Regions from separate parts of the Homo sapiens genome. Here region 2 is linked to region 1. The links are contacts of gene promoters, found by promoter capture Hi-C in blood cells and fetal thymus (Javierre and others, 2016). All regions are on one chromosome and are shown on one strand. The core of a region is centred on a gene start or on the middle of the fragment in contact, and the rest is flanking DNA. Distances in the headings are between cores, read along the strand shown.

What was found. The method cuts DNA at HindIII sites, captures the fragments that hold promoters and counts their contacts. A CHiCAGO score of 5 or more calls a contact.
Region 2: a contact is called between a fragment that was not itself captured here and the fragment with the promoter of COX7C in region 1, in 2 of 17 cell types (naive CD8 T cells and activated CD4 T cells). The highest score is 8.5, in naive CD8 T cells.

The regions. Positions count from the first base shown.
Region 1 is chr5:86,614,987-86,619,228 of GRCh38, forward strand. COX7C (cytochrome c oxidase subunit 7C) reads left to right here and starts at 2,955. Exons shown (of 3, transcript NM_001867.3): 1 at 2,955-3,144. The coding sequence starts at 3,070. RefSeq lists enhancers at 2,623-2,702, 2,714-3,379, 2,766-3,060, 2,993-3,082, 3,380-4,045. The HindIII fragment of the contact is 5,230 bases long and covers 1-4,242 here.
Region 2 is chr5:72,303,522-72,307,816 of GRCh38, forward strand. All of the region lies in intron 2 of MRPS27 (mitochondrial ribosomal protein S27), which reads right to left. Among named protein-coding and RNA genes, the nearest start is that of MRPS27, 15 kb to the right of the region's middle. The HindIII fragment of the contact is 2,782 bases long and covers 1,655-4,295 here.

The sequences.
Region 1 (4,242 bases), core at 1,705-4,204:
TTTCCAAAAAATTGTGGCCATCTTTAATTTCCTACGATGCCTACACAAAAATGGAATATTGCTAGATTTATTTAAACTTTTTCTTCCTTCTTTAGTGAATTTGAAAGAGACCAAAATTAGCATAAAACTCCTAAACTCAGACTACATTCATTAGTTAACTAATTTATTAATTGCTTTCTACTTAGTAATTAAGAAAAAACCATATAGCAACTAGTATAAAATTTTATTTTGTGCTCAGTGTGGCTTATTGACAAAAATATTCTTTAGAAAATATTTTGAAATAATTCTCAAGAGTGTGCTCTATAGGTGGTATCTAGCCACTAATACAAAAGTCAGTAATCTGCCAAGAATGAGTGATCTCAGCCACTTTGAATCCCACTTCAATTTACCTCCTAACTTATCAGTAGCATCAAAAAGCTGCAAAGTGCATTTCTGAGTGTCTAGCATTCTCTAGAATATGCCAGCTGCTACACCACCTTCAAATGGAACCACTCTACCTCCCATACTTTCAATGTTTTGGCATGTTTGGCACATCCATCTTCATTATAGCTGAAGAACTATCACAGAAACATGACTCCAGAGAAAGATATATTTGAAGCAAAGATAATATTTTACATGATACAGCCAAATTCTCATCTACAGATTGGTAATGAGAAACTGTTTTCCTCATGGCATCTAGAAGAAAGGCTAATTTCCTTAAATAGAACAGCTGTGTTACTTCTAGTTCTCTCTTTGTTGCTCCATAAAAAACTACCCCAAACTTAATGACTTGAAAAAACAACCATTTTATTATACCACACAAATCTCTAGAACAACATTTTGGGTAGGAGTCAACTAGACAACTCTGCTCCACACAGCAGTGACTGTGGTCACTCAGCAATATTCAGCTGAGGGCGGGGCTGGGCTGAAGTGTCCAAGATAGCTTCACTCACATGCCCGGCACTTGAGTGTAACCACCACCCTCCCCCATATTTACATAGGTATAAACTTTTTTTTTTTTTTTTTTTGAGATGGAGTCTCGCTCTGTCGCCCAGGCTGGAGTGCAGTGGTGTGATCTCGGCTCACTGCACGCTCTGCCTCCCGGGTTCACACCATTCTCCTGCCCCCGCCTCCCAAGTAGCTGGGACTACAGGCGCCCGACACCACGCCCGGCTAATTTTTTGTATTTTTAGTAGAGACGGGGTTTCACCGTGTTAGCCAGGATGGTCTCAATCTCCTGACCTCGTGATCCGCCTGCCTTGGCCTCCCAAAGTGCTGGGATTACAGGCGTGAGCCACCGCGCCCGGCCAAACATATTTTTTTTTTTTGTATTTAACTTACCACAAAGCCCATGAGAAGGCAGACAGTTCTGAAACCATATTCTGGAATCTCTGCCCTGCAGGTCCCTAAAGAGTTAACTCAAAGCCAGATACCCAATGGAGGCTCAATTAATGTGAATTAGAAGCAACAATGAACCAAATCCACAGATAACATTACTCACACTAGATTGAAAAGTGTAATCTAGAAATATTAAGTGTGAAAAAGTTTCTCAATTATAGTTAAATCAGAATTCTTTAATATGTAAAGGCAGTGAACGGAATGTTAAAAAAAAATGGAATGTCACATAACTTCTATAAATTAGGTGGTAGAGGACACCAGTTATGATGCATTTCATGAACCCCTACTCAAAAAGAAGCTACTTGTTGAAACAAAATATGAATTTAAGTGTTTTTTTTAAGTGTTTTTTTGGGGGGGAGGGGCATGGTTGTTCTCTTCCAAAAACTGAAAAAAAAAAAAAAAAAAAAGACGAAAAGAGCATATATGTTATGCCCTTTTCAAAGCAAACCTTAGGTCTTATTGGAATTGTTTCCTAATGCTATATAAATGAGACACGTGAGGCAATATACACTCCCCCACAGATGAATAACATAACATTTAGGTTACCAGGGCCTTTCACAATCTAACCTAACACCACTTTCCCAGGTTCATTTATCACTGGTTTCTTCTCAATACCTTCTGGTCAAAGACCACCAGAAGCACACATGTAATTGACAAACGGGGTTTATTATTCATTGCAGTAAGGGTTCTCTGTAAAATATTAGAAAATGCTTATTGGATTTGGGATTTTTTTCTCCTAATATTGGCTACCTTACCAAATCTTAGGAGGAAGAAAGGCTAGATCAAGGCTAAGATTGTAATTGGTAAAGAAGCAGAAGTCATCAAATTAAACCAGATAGGGTGATGTCCGGTCATTTTCGTGGCTTGGACAATGTTTTATCTGTGTTCAGATGTGATTACACAGTGATCATATTCTTTTCTTAATGAACACTGTCAGAGTGGTCTTGTTGGATGCTAATGCTTGCTGAAATTGTGTACGTTCATCAGGCGGACACCAGTTCCTAGTCCAGGCTAGCTCCAGGTGTCAGAGGCCACTTTTCCCTTCTACTCCTCACACATGCTGTACTCATACCAGACTTGAGTTTTCCCTGCCCTTTGTTCTTCCTTCTTTTTTATTCGATTCCCATTATCTTTAGTGATCATTCCCTTAGCATTTCAGTTTTCTCTCTGAAGTCCTTTGTGCTGCACGTTGTTTGATTACTTGTGTTTATGCTTTGTTTCTTCAGCTAGGATCATTAGCACATATCTCTCAGCATTGGCAAAAGTCCTCGAAATCATTGACACCTAGCATATACTTTATTTTTAAAAAAGAAAGAAAGAAGAGAAAAGGGATGGGTTTATTGTCCTTTTCAACAGACTAGAGTATACGGGGTGAAACTGCTTCACTTGATTCAATAAAATCGTTTCCGGTAACAGGCCCCAGGAATCCTAGACCTAAGCCTGGCGCGAAACTACATTTCCCACAATCCTTCGGGGGCTGATAAGGCTCCGCAATGGTCTGAACTACAATTCCCACAATCCAGGGCGATTTCCGCTTTGTCGCGTTTCCTCAAGGCTCCGCCCCATTTCCCATCTTTCTTTTCAGTCCTTGCGCACCGGGGAACAAGGTCGTGAAAAAAAAGGTCTTGGTGAGGTGCCGCCATTTCATCTGTCCTCATTCTCTGCGCCTTTCGCAGAGCTTCCAGCAGCGGTATGTTGGGCCAGAGCATCCGGAGGTTCACAACCTCTGTGGTCCGTAGGAGCCACTATGAGGAGGGCCCTGGGAAGGTTAGTGTGTAAGGGGCACGGCTTCGTTGGGGGAGGGGGCGCTTGGCTGTGACTCGCGCACCTGCAAGGCCGCCTCCGGGCTGTGGCGTGGGAGATGATAGCCAGAAACCAGGCTGAGACGCAGACTAGCATTCCACTTAGCCCAAGGACCAGTGAGGAAGCTGGGCATCCTAGCGCGTAGCCGCTAAAGGAATGGGCAGGTAGATCCGGAAGCCCTGCCTCCATCAGCCACCTGACGCCCCCTCCCCCGCCCCGCAGAAAGCCCTGAGATGGCTCCGGGAGGCCACGGCTGTAGGTGTGTTGGTTAAATCCGAGCTGGAGGTCATCGGACCCGAAATGAAGGTCATTGGAAAATCATGAGGAAATCAGGGCCTCTGGTTATGGAACAGGCTTTTTAAACTAGCTGCCTAAGTTAGAAGTACTAACCCTTCACCTCAGTTAAGGCTGGGTTTGGCCTCAGGTGTAAATAACTTAAACCACATAGCAGTAACAATCTCGGAGGGTCACACGAGGCCTAGTCATAAAGGCCAGAGAAGGTGCTTGGTAATGAAAAACAAACAAACAAAAAAAACTGTGGGCCAGGTGCGGTGGCGCACGCCTGTAATCGGGAGGCTAAGGCGTTCGGATCACCTGAGGTCAGGAGTTCCAGACCAGCCTGGCCAACATGGCGAAACCCTGTCTCTACTAAAAAGTACAAAAAAATTAGCCGGACGTGGTGGTGTGTGCCTCTAATCCCAGCTACTCGGGAGGCTGAGGCAGGAGAATCGCTTGAACCCGGGAGGTGGAGGTTGCAGTGAGCCGAGATCGGGCCACTGCACTCCAGCCTGGACAGAGCGGGACTCCGTCTCAAAAAAAAAAAAAAAGAAAAAAAAAGAGCTGTATTGCACTTAACATTGCCATGTATCTTCTAAGGTGACTACTTAGGACAGTAGTTTTTTCGATTTTCTAAAGTAAGAAACTTCTCACTATTTGACGTTTGAGTCCTCAAGACCATTCATTGCCTAGTGCTTAGTAAAGCCAGATTATTTCTTGCCATGTAGTGTTTTGTGATGAAGGTCATAGGATTTGAAAGATAAATGTTTAAAACGATGTTATGAT
Region 2 (4,295 bases), core at 1,796-4,295, about 14 Mb before region 1:
ATGTATACAATCTCAAGTCAAAAAAGTAAAATTATTATTTCAAAAACGATGAATGAGAGGATCTCAAAAGTGGCCAGAAAGAAAAGAGAAATTACAAAGAAAGAAACAACTATACTAACAGGTGTTTTCTCAATAGGAATGATAAAATCCAGAAAATAGAATAAAATGTTCAAAATGTTGCAAGTATAAACTATCAACCTAAAATTGCATATCTAGCAAGATTATCTTTAAAAAATAAGGGCAAAATATGGGTATGCTGGCATGTGCTTGTAGACCCAGCTACTCAGGAGGCTGAGGTGGGAGGATCACTTAAGCCCAGGAGTTGGAGGCCAGTGTGGGCAACACAGCAAGACCTCATCTCAAAAAAAAAAAAAAAAAAAAAAAGATAAGGGCGAAATGAAGACATTTTTGGACAAACAAAAACAGAAAATGTATTAGCAACAAATACTAAAGGAAATTTTTAGAACTCAATAAAATTGGTTAAATTGGGGGGGAACTGACTGTTTAAAATAATGTTATATGTGTTTTAAAGGATAAAACTTTATTATTAGACAAGAGCATATGGTTAGATGTGTGTGTGTGGACCTAAGGTGTCCTAAAGGATAGTAGAGTGTGATGAGCATTACAATTTAAGCTAGATATGCATTTTAGAAGTTAAAGGGCAACAATCTCTAAAAAAGTAGAGGATATAATCTCCAGACCAGTGGAGGGGAAAAAAACGTAAAAAACAAAAACAATCCAAAAGTAAAAATCAATCCAAAAATAAAAAATAAAGAAAAAAAAGAAAGATGAAACCAATCACAAAATGTGACAGAAATAAATCCAATTATATTGGTAATCATGAAATGATAATGTAAATAGACGAAATTTTCTAGTTAAAAGATAATGATTGTCAGATTGGTTAAAAATATAAAAGCTAGCTATATAAATCATATAAACACAGAAGAGTTGAAAATTATTAAAAACACACTAGGAAGCCAAAATAAAGCTGGTACAGTTGTATTAATATCAGACACAATAGATTACAGGCAAAAAGCAGTTTTATAGATTATGTGGGTCACTACATAATGACCAAAAATTCATTTTGCCAAGATAATTTTAACCTGGTGCACACCAAAGTAACACAGCTTCACAGTACATAACCACAAAATCTGTAGTACAGATGTGTTGAAAAACAAGCCTCTTAAAAAAGAGTGTGGTCTCTGGGGCAAAGTTGTGATAATGAAGGTCACTGAAGAAAAATATGAATCCTTTATTGAATCCTTCTAGCTTCAGGTGAGAAATGGTTTCAGTTTTTCTTTTCTACATAACTGCACATTACTGTTAACCTTTCAGGCAACACTAAACTCTTTCTGGGCTTATGGTCATCTGCATACCTTACCTAATTTATATAATAAAGAAACAGGTACAGATTATTATTGTCCTTCCTAGAAGAACTGATCTTGAAAAATACAGGCTGAAACTGTTTTTGTTTCCCACATTTTAAAAGAAAAACGAGGACACATGACATATATCATGCATTGAATATACAGAAGGAAGTATGGAAAACTAGCCTAGCAACCAATTTGGACATAGATTTTTAGACTTCCTTCTATTTGTCTGTCACCAGAAGCTTTAACATAAATAAATCCAATAAAGGAAAAACATGAAATCAAGCTTTGTGTACATATATATTAATGAGACTAAAGAACGGTGATGTGCACAAGTCAGACCCATCTCTAGAACTTGGCAAATATGGAAACTGGAAAATGAATAGATGCCACAGAGATGCAAATACAGAACTGACAAAAGTTAAGAAAGCAGACTTCAGAAAATCTCCATCAGGCCTCAAGAGCAGGATCTGAAATATTCATGCAAAAAGCCAAAGGCCTCTACAGCTGAAATGACACAGCAAAACTAAATCTCAGCTAAAATGGAAGAAGTGTCTGTAAGAGACAGACCTGAATGCAAATGTGTCAAGGAAATACTCTTTGGATTCAAAAAGGAGGTTCTCCAAAAACAAACCAACAGAAAACAAACCAACAAACCAAGAGAAACCAACACAAACAAGCAAAACAGTAACCCAAACCAAAATGTGTCCTATACTTTGTGATGTGAAAAATCACAAATAAAATATTTAATCCAGTAGGGCTCATGAATCCTGAATTCAGCTCAAGTCACCTGAGTGCTCGCTCCTTGTCAGAAAGACTCAAGAAAACTTCCTCTCATGGAACTCAAGGAGCTTCCCCATGAGGCCTGCCCTCCTACCAACACCCTACCCAGTTCCCCAGTGGTTTTCTCCTGAGTCCTGTTCACAGTGGATCCTATTCTGTTAACTAGTAAATGTTGATAACTTTTACCCTGTACCTCCCCAACAAATCAGCAAGTTAGTGGAGGAATTCCAGAGACAATGCTTTAACTCAGTGTTTATTTTAGCCAAAGGGAAGCCCAGTACAGAAACAATCAAAAGTTGAAATCTGATTGAAGTAGGAAAGCCCAGGGCTCTACAGAGCACAGTTGAACTATGGCCCTATCAATAAAAGTATCAACAGCAATGGATTAAAATGTCTCAATTATTTAAATCTATGAGTTCTTAATGACATTTTAAGAAGTCCTCATTCATCATTTTTGCAAGTTATTTTGAAAGCTAACTCATATACAAACTATTTCAGGGTAAGTAAACTGTTGATGAATGGAAGTTCTGTCATAAAAATTTCCTAGATAATAAATGAAAAGAAATGATAAAATTTAAACAGCAATAGTATGCAGCTTCAAATGAAATAACAAATCTAAGTAAAGATCATGAATGGCCTTTAACTTCGCAGAGGGGCAATCAAATGCTGTGTGCTTACTGACACAAGTAAACACTTACTATGAAGTATTTATACCAAAAGACAAAATAAAAAGTCCTGAATCTGATCAAGCCCCTTTCTCCAACTACCAGTTTCACAAGACATATGGAAGGCAGAGGAGCACGCTAAACACCACAATAAGGATGAAATCAGCAAATCTAGAATGTGGGAAACTCCAAAAAAGACCTGTTTTGTTCAATAAATAAATTGCAAAAAACTTACAAACTAAGATAGTTGAGACAACTCAACACATTGCAAGGTATGGACCTTATCTAGATCACATTTCAACAAACTAAATTAAAAAGAAATTTATAAGACATTTGGGAAAATGTGAACATTAATGGAATATTTAATATTACAGAAGTACTAGTTTTTTAGAATAGTATGATTAATTACGTTTTTAAAAATCCTTATCTTTTAGAGGTACATATCAAAGTACATATAAAAAAACCCCGATAATTAAGTTTGTTAAAAAGTAATCTGGTGAACAGGTGGGGAGTTGATGAAACAACACTGGTAGGGAATTGATAATTGCTGGAGCTGGGTGACAGTACACAGGGGTTTATTCTACTCTCTCTACTTCTGTATGTTTCTATTAAAAAGATTCAGAAAGAGTTAACGGGGGCACATAGCAACCAATTGTATTATACGAGGCTTTATTTGAATCCTGATTCAACCAAATCATAAAAAAAAAAATTTGAGAGTATCAGGGATACCTGAGCCAGGAGCGGTGGCTCACGCCTGTAATCCCAGCACTTGGGGAGGCCGAGGTGGGCGGATCACGAGGTCACGAGTTCGAGACCAGCATGACCAAAAAGGCAAGACCCCATCTCTGCTAAAAATACAAAAATTAGCCGGGCATGGTGGCGGGCGCCTGTAATCCCAGCTTCTCGGGAGGCTGAGGCAGGAGAATCGCTTGAACCTGGGAGGAGGAGGTTTAAGCGAGCTGAGATCGTGCCATTGCACTCCAACCTGGGCGACAAGAGCAAGGCTCTAAGAAAATAAAATAAAATAAGAAAGAGAGTATCAGGGATATCTGAACACTAACTGGATATTTCGTGATATTTACAACCCTATTAATATTTTAGGTGTGATAATGGTATTGAAAAGCACCCTTGTCTTTTGGAGATCTGTATCAAAATATTTACGGATGAAATGACTTACTGCCTGGGATCTCCTTCAAAATTATCCAAAGCATCGGGATGGGGAAACAGTAATAAAGATAAAATAAAGACTAAGAGCTGATAATTGTTGAAGCCAGGTGATGGGTAAAGGGGGCTCCTTATACCAAGGTGTCTACACCTTCAAATGTTAAAACACTAAAAAAAAAAAATCTGTGGCGTTAGAAGTCAGGATACCGGTTACCTTTGGAGAGACTAAGTGGGGGCCGCAATAAGGGCTTCTGGAGCGGTAGGAATGCTCTTGCTTCCTACACAGGTTTACTCGCTTTGTGGTAATTCATCA